Regions from separate parts of the Homo sapiens genome. Here all the other regions are linked to region 1. The links are contacts of gene promoters, found by promoter capture Hi-C in blood cells and fetal thymus (Javierre and others, 2016). All regions are on one chromosome and are shown on one strand. The core of a region is centred on a gene start or on the middle of the fragment in contact, and the rest is flanking DNA. Distances in the headings are between cores, read along the strand shown.

Region 1 (3,937 bases), core at 556-3,055:
AACACCCTCCCCATCCTTCTCAGTTCCAGCTCTCCAAGTCCCGCTCATCTTCCAAGATCTGTCTCATTGCACATCTTCCTCGCAAGCCTTCTCCAGAGTCATTCAGCTCACTCCCTAAGCTTCAGTTAAATCCCTTAGCCCTGCTTCCATCCAGATTCCTGCCCTGAAAACTTTCTACCTGGTTAGACTCATCACTGCCATTCAGCTTCCCTCATCAGAACTCCTGTTGCCTAATCTCTCCAGCCTTAGGTTGGTCTTTAACTATTGTTTTCTTTCTATGTGTATATCTTGTCTCTCACTGAAATGTAAGCTCCATGAAGCACAGCCACATGTTTCCTTTTTAGCCTTATACATACAGATGTATATTCACTTTGGGATCAATAGTGTTTGTCAACTCAAATAGGATGTGTGGGATGAATGATCCCACCTTCTGTTAGATTATTCAGCTCCTAAGTCATGCAAAACCAATACCTTGTGGACCTCCTTTCTAAAGCTCCTGCAGGGTGGGGAAAGAATGCACGGATTCTCATAGGTGCATTTAGCAATTACTAGTAACCAACACTTAATGAATGCTTACTAATTGCTAGGTCCTGTACAAAATACATTACATACATAAACTTATTCAATCTTCACGACAACTATTATTGTCCCCACTGAACAGATGAAGACACATAGAGGTCACTCAGCTAGTAAGTGGCGCAGCTAGGATTTAAAACCCAGACCGACTCCAGAGTCCATACTCTCAATTATGATACTAAATTCTTTATGGATAACAGAAAGTCTCTAATTGTAATGTAGATCAATTTCCTTGCTTTCTAACCCCATGGGAAGATGGAACTAAAAGGGTGAGAAAATAATATTTATTATACTCCTACTATAAGCCTAGTATTATAAGAGGTGCATAATGGGTTAATGATATAATTCTTGCTGTAAGTCTATGAAGCAGGAAGTATTAACTCCATTTTAAAGAATTTGGCTTCTAAAGTGGTTAAACACAGTGCTCAAGTTTTAGCTTCCAGTTATTGGCAGAGTTGGAATTAGACCAGGTTTTCTAACTTTGAAGGAAAGACTTAATTTAAAGGAGACTGTATAGAAAACCCTGCCAAGGGCAAATGTGAAGGGCACGTGAAAAGGCATCTGAATTATTACTTATAATAATTCAGAAATAGTGAATGTGTGGCGCATATTGAAGAATGATGAGAGATTGTCAAAAAATCTATTCTATAAACACTCACAGAGGAATCAGCTAATTAAATAAGCGAGCTGCCTGTCTTGGGCTAGGACATAAACTCCAAAACTTCCCACGAGGCAAGGGCAAAGAGGGCGCCACCTGTCCTGGAGAACCTGGGAACCCGCTCTAGAGACTTCGGCTCAGCCCCTTTTATTTCCTCACACTCTAATTGGCTACTTTTCCCTGGGCTCCGCCTCCTCCTCGGTCTGGACCATTAAACAGGCAAGCCCTACCCCGGACCTGGATGCGGCCTCCAATCAGGTGCCAGGCCCTGGAGTCCCTCTAGAGAAGCCCCCTCTCCACCGGCGAGGCGCTTTGCTCTCGTCCGTGATTGGCCAGGCAGCAGCATGGGGTCCGCCTCCTTCTCTTCCAGATTGGTCAGCGGTCCTCAGGACCACATCCCTCTCGGCAGGTCCCCGCCGCTTTTTCCCTTCGCTGCGTGGCCTTGGCCGAGACCGGTCCTCTGCGGAGAGGGCCCCGCCCTCTGTGAAGGCCCGCCCGGGAATTGGCGGCGGCGCTGCAGCCATTTCCGGTTTCGGGGAGGTGGGTGGGGTGCGGAGCGGGACTTGGAGCAGCCGCCGCCGCTGCCACCGCCTACAGAGCCTGCCTTGCGCCTGGTGCTGCCAGGAAGATGCGGCCGGAGCCCGGAGGCTGCTGCTGCCGCCGCACGGTGCGGGCGAATGGCTGCGTGGCGAACGGGGAAGTACGGAACGGGTACGTGAGGAGCAGCGCTGCAGCCGCAGCCGCAGCCGCCGCCGGCCAGGTACGAGGGGCCCGCGCGGCGGGGCCGGGGTGGCGGTGTGGACTGGCGGAGGGGCGGCCGGGCGGGGCGAGGTCTCCGGGCCATCCGCTGGGCAATCCGCGGGGCGGGCGCCGTTCGCAGGTGTGGGCGGCAGTGTCCGGCCGCTGGCCCGACCTCCACGAGCCTGGAGGCTCAAGGACGGCTCGGGGGCTCCCCACCTCTCCGCGCCTGGAGGTCTTACTCCCGGAGCTCTGGGTTCTGCTCAGAGCTCCGGGTACTTTTCTCTGCCCCATTCTGCCAGAAGTGTGTGCTGTCCCCAGGGGAAGCGATGAGGGGCCCTTCGGACTCCAGTGGGAGCCGCCCAAGGGCTCCGGAGGGTCCCTTCTCAAACCCCTGAGGTTATTGCTTCCTTTTAAAGTCCTGCAGTCGTCCAAAGAAAACCACCCATGGGGTCCTTAAGAAGCAAAGAAAATTAGGCGGTGGTGTCAGATGGAAACACACCCAGCCTCTCCCAACCACATTCTGGACTACCACGTTCAGTCCCCAACCAGGACATTGGTCCATAGATCTGGCAGGGAATCCAAGCTGGTCCCTCGAAAGCATCATTCTCTTAACTCTGCCGGTGGTGAGACTCTACCCCAGGCTCCAGGTTGGATTAGGTGGCCCCTTCGACCCTTTCCTGAACACGAGTGCTATCACACAAGGGGATTGTTTAGCCTGGTGGTGACTTGCGATGACTCTATACTAATTAACCATGCTGAATCATCAACCAAGTTCAGGCAGTTCTAAAATATTTTGAAAAGTTCTAAATTCAAGACAATGCTTATTATCAACCTTACAGTGGTCTGGACTGACAGATATTCTGTTGAAATGTGTTTTTAAAGATGAGCTGGTTAAAAAGATGCAAGATCGGTGTTCCTGGAAGAGAGTGTTGCGATAATTTTGCAGTTGACTTTAATACGTTTAAGTCTTGTACAGATATTAAGGAACGCTTAGAAAGTACTCTGTTTCCCTTTAGCGGGAGTGTGACTGTTGCAGTTTGATAGGATGGTGATCTTAATTTGGCTTTAACATAACTACTCCCCAGATGAGTAGTTATGATGGATAGGTCTGTTACTGTTTGCTGCGAAGCAGAAAATAAAGCATTTTTCCAGGTCATGTTGAGATATTGAGACTGAGTTGAGGGGAAAAATAAGTAAAGCAGACTTGACCTCCCCTGAAGTTGTAAGGTGTCAAAGCGAAGTAATACACAGATCAAAAGATTTGTTTTCACTTTTAAAGAAATAATTGTGTGAGGGAGGAAGTGATAACAGTCAGCTCATTATAAGCAGTGGAATAGTTTGTCGTTTTCCTAGCAATGTAAACGACTTATAAGACAAAATTGTTGTGGTATAGAATGTAATAGGGAAATTTAACGGGTAGGAGTTAGAAAATACATTTGCAGGTGAATTTCATTGAGGTATGATTTTTTTTTTGTTTTTGTTTTTGTTTTTTTTTTTCAGACAGTTTTGCTCTTGTCACCCAGGCTGGAGTGCAATGGCGCGATCTCGGCTCACTGCAGCCTCCACCCCCTGGGTTCAAGCGATTCTCCTGCCCCAGCCTCCCGAGTAGCTGGGATTACAGGCGCCCGTCATCACGCCCGGCTAAATTTTGTATTTTTATTAGAGATGGGGTTTCACCATGTTGGCCAGGTTGGTCTCGAACTCCTGACCTCAGGTGATTGGCCTGCCTTGGCCTCCAAAAGTGCTGGGATTACAGGCGCACCAGGCCGAGGTATGATTTTTTTTGTTTTTTTGGTTTTTTTTGAGATGGAGTCTCGCTCTGTCGCCCAGGCTGGAGTGCAGTGGCGCGATCTCGGCTCACTGCAAGCTCTACCTCCCAGGTTCACGCCATTCTCCTGCCTCAGCCTCCCAAGTAGCTGGGCCTACAGGCACCCGCCACCACGCCCGGCTAATTTTTTGTAT
Region 2 (3,937 bases), core at 997-3,496, 4.6 Mb after region 1:
CTCACTGCAGCCTCAACTTTCCAGGCTCCAGCGATTCTCCCACCTCAGCCTCCCAAAAGCCAGGATTACACTGAGCCCGGCTGGCTCAGCTACTCCTAAAGCCAGCTGTTCTAGGCTTATCAGTATGTAACCCAATACATTACTTTTCCGAAATCAGTTTGAGTTGAGTTTTCTATTCCTTACACAGAAAGAACTCTAAATGATACACTTATATACCACTTGTAGAGAACAAGCCAAGCCATTCATTTGCGATGCCAGTTATCCTCCTTCTATTTTTTTCTTACAAATCCTTGCTAAGGAAACTGTAGATAATTAATTTGGATATTACATTCTGTGTGCATTTGGACACCATTCTTTTTTTTTTCTTTTTTTTTTTTTTGAGATGGAGTTTTGTTCTCATTGCCCAGGCTGGAATGCAATGGCATGATCTCGGCTCACCGCAACTTCCGCCTCCCAGGTTCAAGCGATTCTCCTGGCATAGCTTCCCAAGTAGCTGGGATTACAGGCACATGCCACCATGCCGAGCTAATTTTGTATTTTTAGTAGAGGTGGGGTTTCTCCATGTTAGCCAGGCCGGTCTCCAACTCCCGACCTCAGGTGATCCACCTGCCACAGCCTCCCAAAATGCTGGGATTACAGGCATGAGCCACCACACCTGGCCTGGACCCTATTCTCATTGGCCACATCTGACCCAACTAAACAGCAGCATACCAGGAAAAATGTTGTTTAGCTGGAACTGAGCAGATCTTCTCAAAAATTGAAACTGGAGCCCAGCACAGTAGCACACACCTGTAGTCTCAATCATGAGGAGAGAGGATTGCTTGTGTGTGTGTGTGTGTTTGCGTGTGTATGCATGGCCATCATTATATATATATATATATATATATATATATATATATACACACACATAAATACATATACATACATAAATATATATATATATACAATGCCATTATATAGTATATAATGGCATAAAATATATAAATATAATACATATAATGCCATTATATATATAATATATGTGAATATATATAATATATATGTGTATATAGAGAGAAGAAGATAGAGAGAGGAAGCACATTAACACAGAATCTAGAGATCAAGGCTGGACTACCCAGCAAGGTGGAGTAACTGAAGTTTACCAAGTTAAGTCAGGACTCTGAAAGGATGTTAAAGTGCTCCCTTGTTAGTAATAGTCCTAGGCTCTTGACAGAAGCAAACATAGTTCCCATGGAGAAAAGAATCCCTAATTTAGGCTTCAGGATTCTGATATCAAATGTGAGCTTAAAATTTAAAAATGCAGGCCAGGCATGATGGCTCACGCCTGTAATCCCAGCGCTCTGGGAGGCTGAGGCGGGTGGATCACCTGAGATCAGGAGTTTGAAACCAGCCTGACCAACATGGAGAAACCCTGTCTCTACTAAAAATACAAAACTTAGCCAGGTGTGGTGGCACTCACCTGTAGTCCCAGCTATTTGGGAGGCTGAGGCAGGAGAATTGCCTGAACCCAGGAGGCGGAGGTTGCAGTGAGCCAAGATGGCACCACTGCACTCCACCCTGGGTGACACAGCGAGACTTAGTCAAAAAAAAAAATTGACCGGGCAATGTGGCTCACACCTGTAATTCCAGCACTTTGGGAGGCTGAGGCAAGCGGATCACCAGAGGTCAGGAGTTTGAGTCCAGCCTGACCAACATGGAGAAATCCCGTCTCTACTAAAAATACAAAAAATTAGCCAAGCATGGTGGTGCATGCCTATAATCCCAGCTACTCAGGAGGTTGAGGCAGGAGAATCGCTTGAACCTGGAAGGTGGAGGGTGTGGTGAGCCAAGATCACAGCATTGCACTCCAGCCTGGGTAACAAGAGTGAAACTCTGTCTTAAAAAAAAAAAAAAAAAGGCCAAGGGCCAGGCATGGCGGCTCACACCTCTAATCCCAGCACTTTGGGAGGCCGAGGAGGTGGATTGCTTTGAGCTCAGGAGTTCAAGACCAGCCTGGCCCACATGGTGAAACCCCATCTCCACTAAAGTACAAAAATTAGCCGTGCGTGGTGGCACATGCCTGTGGTCCCAGCTACTCAGGAGGCTGAGGCAGGAGAATCAGGTGAACTTGGGAGGTGGAGGTTGCAGTGAGCTGAAATCGCTCCACTGCACTCCAGCCTGGGCAACAGAGTGAGACTGTCTAAAAAAAAATTAAAGTGCCAAGAATATTAGGAATGAGCCACCATAAATGCAGCATCACACACACATACACACATGTGCACACACAAAACCAACAGACTTAAATTCCCAATTCAGATATTGAAATATTAGATATGGAATATAAAAAGACTACATAGGAAATCTTTAAAGGGATTTTTCTTAGGCTGAGGACAGTGGCTAACGCCTATAATCCCAGTGCATTGCGAGGCCAAGACAGGAGGATCACTTGAGTCTTGGAGTTTGAGACCAGTCTGGGCAACATAGGGAGACTCTGTTTCTAAAAAAATTTTTTTTGTAATTAGCCAGGCATGGTGGGGCACAGGTCAAGGCTGCATGAACCATGATCACACCATTGTACTTCACCCTGGGTGACAGAGTGAGACCCTGTCCCACTCTGTAGAAGAAATAAGTAAATAAATAAATAAATTAGTCATCAATAGATGTTGAATTTTATGGAATTCTTTTTTAGCAATTGTTGAAATGAACATATTAATTATCAATGATAAAACCTTAAAACTTTGAGAACATCTTATGAATTCATGATAGGGAAAGATTTCTTTTTTCTTTTTTCTTTTTTTTTTCTTTTTTTTGAGACAGAGTTTTACTTTGTCACCCAGGCCGGAGTGCAGTGGCGTGATCTTGGCTCACTGCAACCTCCGCCTTCCAAGTTCAAGGAATTCTCCTGCCTCAGCCTCCGGAGTAGCTGGGATTACAGGCGCCCACAACCACGCCCAGCTAATTTTCGTATTTTTAATAGAGACGGGGTTTCACCTTGTTGGCCAGGCTGGTCTCGAACTCCTGACCTCAAAAGTGATCTGCCCGCCTCGGCCTCTCAAAGTGCTAGGATTACAGCCATGAGCCACTGTGCCCCGACAGGAAGGATTTCTTAAGGAAGATACTATAAGCATAACCTAAACAGAAAAGATTGACAAATCCAACTATATTAAGAACTTTTGATATATTGAAAGTCACCATCAAAAAAAAATGTTGGCCGGGCGCGGTGGGTCACGCCTGTAATCCTAGCACTTTGGGAGGCCAAGGCGGGTGGATCACGAGGTCAGGAGATCAAGACCATCCTGGCTAACACAGTGAAACCCTGTCTCTACTAAAAATACAAAAAAATTAGCCAGACGTGGTGGCGGGCGCCTGTAGTCCCAGCTACTCGGGAGGCTGAGGCAGGAGAATGGCGTGAACCCGGGAGGTGGAGCTGGCAGTGAGCTGAGATCGTGCCACTGCACTCTAGCCTGGGTGACAGAGCAAGACTCTGTCTCAAAAAAAAAAAAAAAAAAAAAAAATCTTGAATATGGAACATGAGCACAGGGGAAGGAAATAGCATTGCACTTATAAGCACTGCACTTTAAGTAGAAAATACAATGTCTTAAGTAAAACTGTATTTAATATTGGCAAAAAAGACCAGGCACAGTGGCTCACGCCTGTAATCCCAGCACTTTGGGAGGCCGAGGCGGGCGGATCACAAGGTTAGGAGATCGAGACCATCCTGGCTAACACGGTAAAACCCCGTCTCTACTAAAAAATACAAAAAATTAGCCGGGCGTGGTGGCGGGCGCCTGTAGTCCCAGCTACTCGGGAGGCTGAGGCAGGAGAATGCTGTGAACCCGGGAGGCGGAGCTTGCAGTGAGCTGAGATTGCGCCACTGCACTCCAGCCTGGGCGACAGAGCGAGACTCCATCTCAAAAAAAAAAAAAAAAATACAAACATTAGCCGGGCATGGTAGCAT
Region 3 (3,937 bases), core at 730-3,229, 4.5 Mb after region 1:
GCACTCTGGGAGGCCGAGGCGGGCGGATCACGAGGTCAGGAGATCGAGACCATACTGGCTAACACGGTGAAACCCCGTGTCTACTAAAAATACAAAAAAATTAGCCGGGCGTGGTGGCGGACGCCTGTAGTCCCAGCTGCTGGGGAGGATGAGGCAGGAGAATGGCGTGAACCCGGGAGGCGGAGCTTGCAGTGAGCTGAGATCGCGCCACTGCACTCCAGCCTGGGCGACAGAGCCAGACTCCGTCTCAAAAAATAAATAAATAAATAAATAAATAAATAAATAAATAAATAATAGTATGTTTATTAGAAAATTTAAAATAGGGATAATCACCTTGTGGTTCTCCCAGTCTGCATGCTAATAAATTTGTATGCCTTTTCTCCAAAAGAAAAACAAAACAGGTTTTTTTTTTTTTTGAGACAGTCTCACTCTTTTGCCCAGGCTGCAGTGCAGTGGCATAATCTTGGCTTACTGCAACCTCCTTCTCCCGGGTTCAAGTGATTCTCCTGCCTCAGCCTCGCTTGGGAGCAGCTGGGACTACAGGCGCGCGCCCCCACGCCCAGCTAATTTTTTGTAGAGCCGGGGTTTCGCCGTGTTGTCTGGTCTCGAACTCCTCAGCTCAAGGATCCGCCCCGCGGCCTCCCAAAGTGCTGGGATTACAGGCGTGAGCCACCGCCCCGGGCCTCACATTTTATTTCTATTGGCTAGCGCTGCTCTAAATCTTCTGTTCCTTCTGCTACACCAGGCCTAACACTCAAAATCCCTGCCAACCTTTTCCTTCCTGAAGCTTCCCTCCCCTTCCTCAGCTCTGGCGACCCTGCGCTGTGGTGGTTCTCCAACCACACTCATTCTCCTCAGCTGGCTCCTTGCTCTTCTTCCACCCCCTCGTTGCAAGTGTTCCTAAGTGTTTGCCTTGGCCTCCTCTTCCCCTTCCTTAGCTTAGACTTCTCCACTGCTCCAACATCAACTGGAAATCTATGGAATTGATTCCTGTTTTCAGCTCCAGTCCTGTTCACAGGGCATTTTCACCTGCTGGCACTTCCAAAGTGACACTTCCAAACCACTTCCTCGCCCTCCTCTCTAAACCAGGTCTTTCTTCCTAACTTCCTTATTTCTGAGAATGTCTCTGCCATGTTCTAAACTGAAAACCTCCTAGTCAACTTCACACTTTATTCCCTGATCCTCAATTGGTTCCCATGTCCCGTTAGTGTTTCTTGTAAGCCTCTGCCACCACCGCAGATCGAACTCTAATCACATCTCACCTGAATTATGGAAAAGTCACCTCAATTCTCTCACCCATCCCAGCCTCCACTATGGATTAATATGCCTAAAGCAGAGCTGACCACAACGGTGAGAAGAATCTGAGAGGGAAGCAGCAGCAAACACAAGAGTCACTGGACATGCATGCCTCGAGACAGTCCCGACCAAGGAGAAAGCATCAGACCCCGTCTTCCGCCTCGAACAAGAGGCGTGCGGACTTCGCCCAGAATGCTCGTCGCCCCTGGACAAGGACACACCCGGGGCGTGAGGCGCGGAGTTTCACCAGTTGCTCAAGCAGACCCAGCCCAAGACGCTTCCTCTTTCTCCTACTCCACTCCAGTTCAGACGGCTACTAATCCCGGCCCAAGGCACCTGCGCCCTGAGACGTCTTCGAGCAAACAGCATTTCCGGACCAAGGCTCCCCGGAATCTCTCTCCACCCGGCCGCGCCCGAAGCCCGAGAAACGGGCCGCCCCTCCTGGTTTCCCACACGGGGTTCCCCAGCCCCAACCGGCCGCGCCCCGCCCCTCATCTTTTAGGACACCGGCTTCGCGGCCCGGGCGGCCACAAAGGGCCGGGCCCTGCCCGCGGCCGCCCATGTCCGCGGTGCCTTCCTGGCTTGCCCGGACTCCCCATCACGCACATACGCTTCCCCGCCGCCCCGCTGCCGCCGCGGCTCGTAGCTCAGGTTCCTTCCAGACCAGCCGCTGTTTTGTTTCCGATGTGAAACCGCGGACCCCGGAGCTGCCTGTCCCAGGCCCCGCCCGAGAACCCTCACCGTTGTCGTCATTTCCGGCTCTGGCGTCGTTGGCGGCCGGCCCACGGAGGAGGGGAGGAGCCAGGAGGAAGGGGGCGGGGCCTCCGGCCTGGAGAAACGATTGCGGGGAGAACCCAGAGCTCCACCTGGCCTTCCCCACCTGACGGAATCCGCCCAGAGCGCTGGCGTGGGTTGTCGGGGTTCTGAGGCTGCTCGAGCTGAGGACGAAAGCCCCTATATAAATTGGGCCCAGCGTGTGCTTCTCCCGGCATACAAGCGATGGCCATCCTAAATTTAACACCTGTCATTTCTTTAGGGTACCTATTTGCGAACCAGCTGCATCACAATCAAGAGAATGCTGTTAAAATCGCAAATATCTCTGCCCTCTCCCACCACTCAATGAATCAAAACTTCTGGTGGGTGGCGAGAACCTGAGAAACTGCATTTTAAACATCCTCCGCGATTCTTGGACTCCAACTTTGACAACCAGTCTTTCTAGGTGGCAAGCTAGCTGAGAGCAGAAAATGTGTCTGGTTTGCTGGGTCACTTGATTTTTGCATCTGCCTGCTCTTTGTCCAGTTTTGGTAAAGACAGTACCAATGTCTAATTCATTAGACAGCATACCACACTTACACATATATCCAAAAGCTAAAACTAAAAAATGAATACTACCTTATTTAATCAAGGTGAACGGAGAAATGTCAAACATGGGTATTCAAAAAACCGAAAATGAAATTAACGGTACATGGTATCTGGGCAAGTTACATTCTTCTAAAGTTTCTTTAAAAATCCACCCCCAAGCGGCCGGGTGCAGTCGCTCACGCCTGTAATTCCGGCACTTTGGGAGGCCGAAGCAGGCGGATCATGAGGTTGGGAGTTCTAGACCAGCCTAACCAACATGGTGAAACCCCGTCTCTACTAAAAATACAAAAAAATTAGCCGGGTGTGGTGGCGCGCTCCTGTAATCCCAGCTACTCGGGAGGCTGCAGCAGGAGAATCGCTTGAACCCGTGAGCTGAGATCACACCACTGCACTCCAGCCTGGGAGACAGAGCAAGACTCCATCTCAAAAAATAAAAATTAAAATTAAAAAATAAAATCCACCCCAAGCTATCCCTTCACATTCCTATCGCATCAATCTCCAATCCCTCCTCCCAACCCACTGCCAACCTTGTTCAAAAACATGAGATTCTAATACTTTTTACACACAAAAGCTTCATATTTAAGAACAAAAGTAATATTTTCCATTAGCAGAATGAAAGATAAGTTGTGGGAGAAGGTTGAACGAAAAAAGATGTTTTTAAAATTCTTCACCTCCCCCACTTTAACAAGAGTAGGGATTTTAGTTTGTTCATTTACAAGTGCTCATGCTTGTCAGCAGCACATATACATTTTACAAGTGCTGAGAACAGTGCCTGATACATAACAGTGCCTGATACATACAATAGTTCAGTATTGAACAAATACAGGCTAAAACCCATCTATTTGTGAACTACTTCAATCTGATTGCAGTCCGCTAATATTAATAGGATGTCTTAAAATGCTGATGAACTATTCTTAGAAACAATCTACAAAAATTTTGGGCAAAGATATTCATGGAATATTATATAGCAAAAAATTGGGAAACTAAATATGGTACAATAGGCAGGGTGCGGTGGCTCACGCCTGTAATTCCAGCACTTTGGGAGGCCAAGGTGGGCGGCTCATCTGAGGTCAGGAGTTCGAGACCAGCCTGATCAACATGGAGAAACCCCGTCTCTACTAAAAATACAAAAAAAGTTAGCCAGGCGTGGTGGCGCATGCCTGTAATCCCAGCTACTTGGGAGGCTGAGGCAGAATTGCTTGAGCCTGGAAGGCAGAGGTTGCAGTGAACCGAGATTGCGCCATTGCATTCCAGCCTGGGCAACAAGAGCGAAACTATG

Evidence for each region. The method cuts DNA at HindIII sites, captures the fragments that hold promoters and counts their contacts. A CHiCAGO score of 5 or more calls a contact.
Region 2: a fragment that was not itself captured here is called in contact with the fragment with the promoter of SPTLC2 in region 1 in 1 of 17 cell types (monocytes); the score reaches 6.4 in monocytes.
Region 3: the fragment with the promoter of PSEN1 here is called in contact with the fragment with the promoter of SPTLC2 in region 1 in 1 of 17 cell types (neutrophils); the score reaches 12.7 in neutrophils.

What each region holds. Positions count from the first base shown.
Region 1 is chr14:77,614,505-77,618,441 of GRCh38, reverse strand. SPTLC2 (serine palmitoyltransferase long chain base subunit 2) reads left to right here and starts at 1,805. Exons shown (of 12, transcript NM_004863.4): 1 at 1,805-1,994. The coding sequence starts at 1,863. RefSeq lists silencers at 1,379-1,438, 1,769-1,818, 1,959-2,158 and enhancers at 1,478-2,010, 2,339-2,548. The HindIII fragment of the contact is 6,254 bases long and covers 122-3,937 here.
Region 2 is chr14:73,051,127-73,055,063 of GRCh38, reverse strand. No RefSeq gene overlaps it. Among named protein-coding and RNA genes, the nearest start is that of RBM25, 5.4 kb to the left of the region's middle. The HindIII fragment of the contact is 4,879 bases long and covers 1-3,937 here.
Region 3 is chr14:73,134,549-73,138,485 of GRCh38, reverse strand. PSEN1 (presenilin 1) reads right to left here and starts at 1,979. Exons shown (of 12, transcript NM_000021.4): 1 at 1,903-1,979. RefSeq lists an enhancer at 1,520-1,629 and silencers at 1,800-1,859, 2,120-2,199. The HindIII fragment of the contact is 2,442 bases long and covers 790-3,231 here.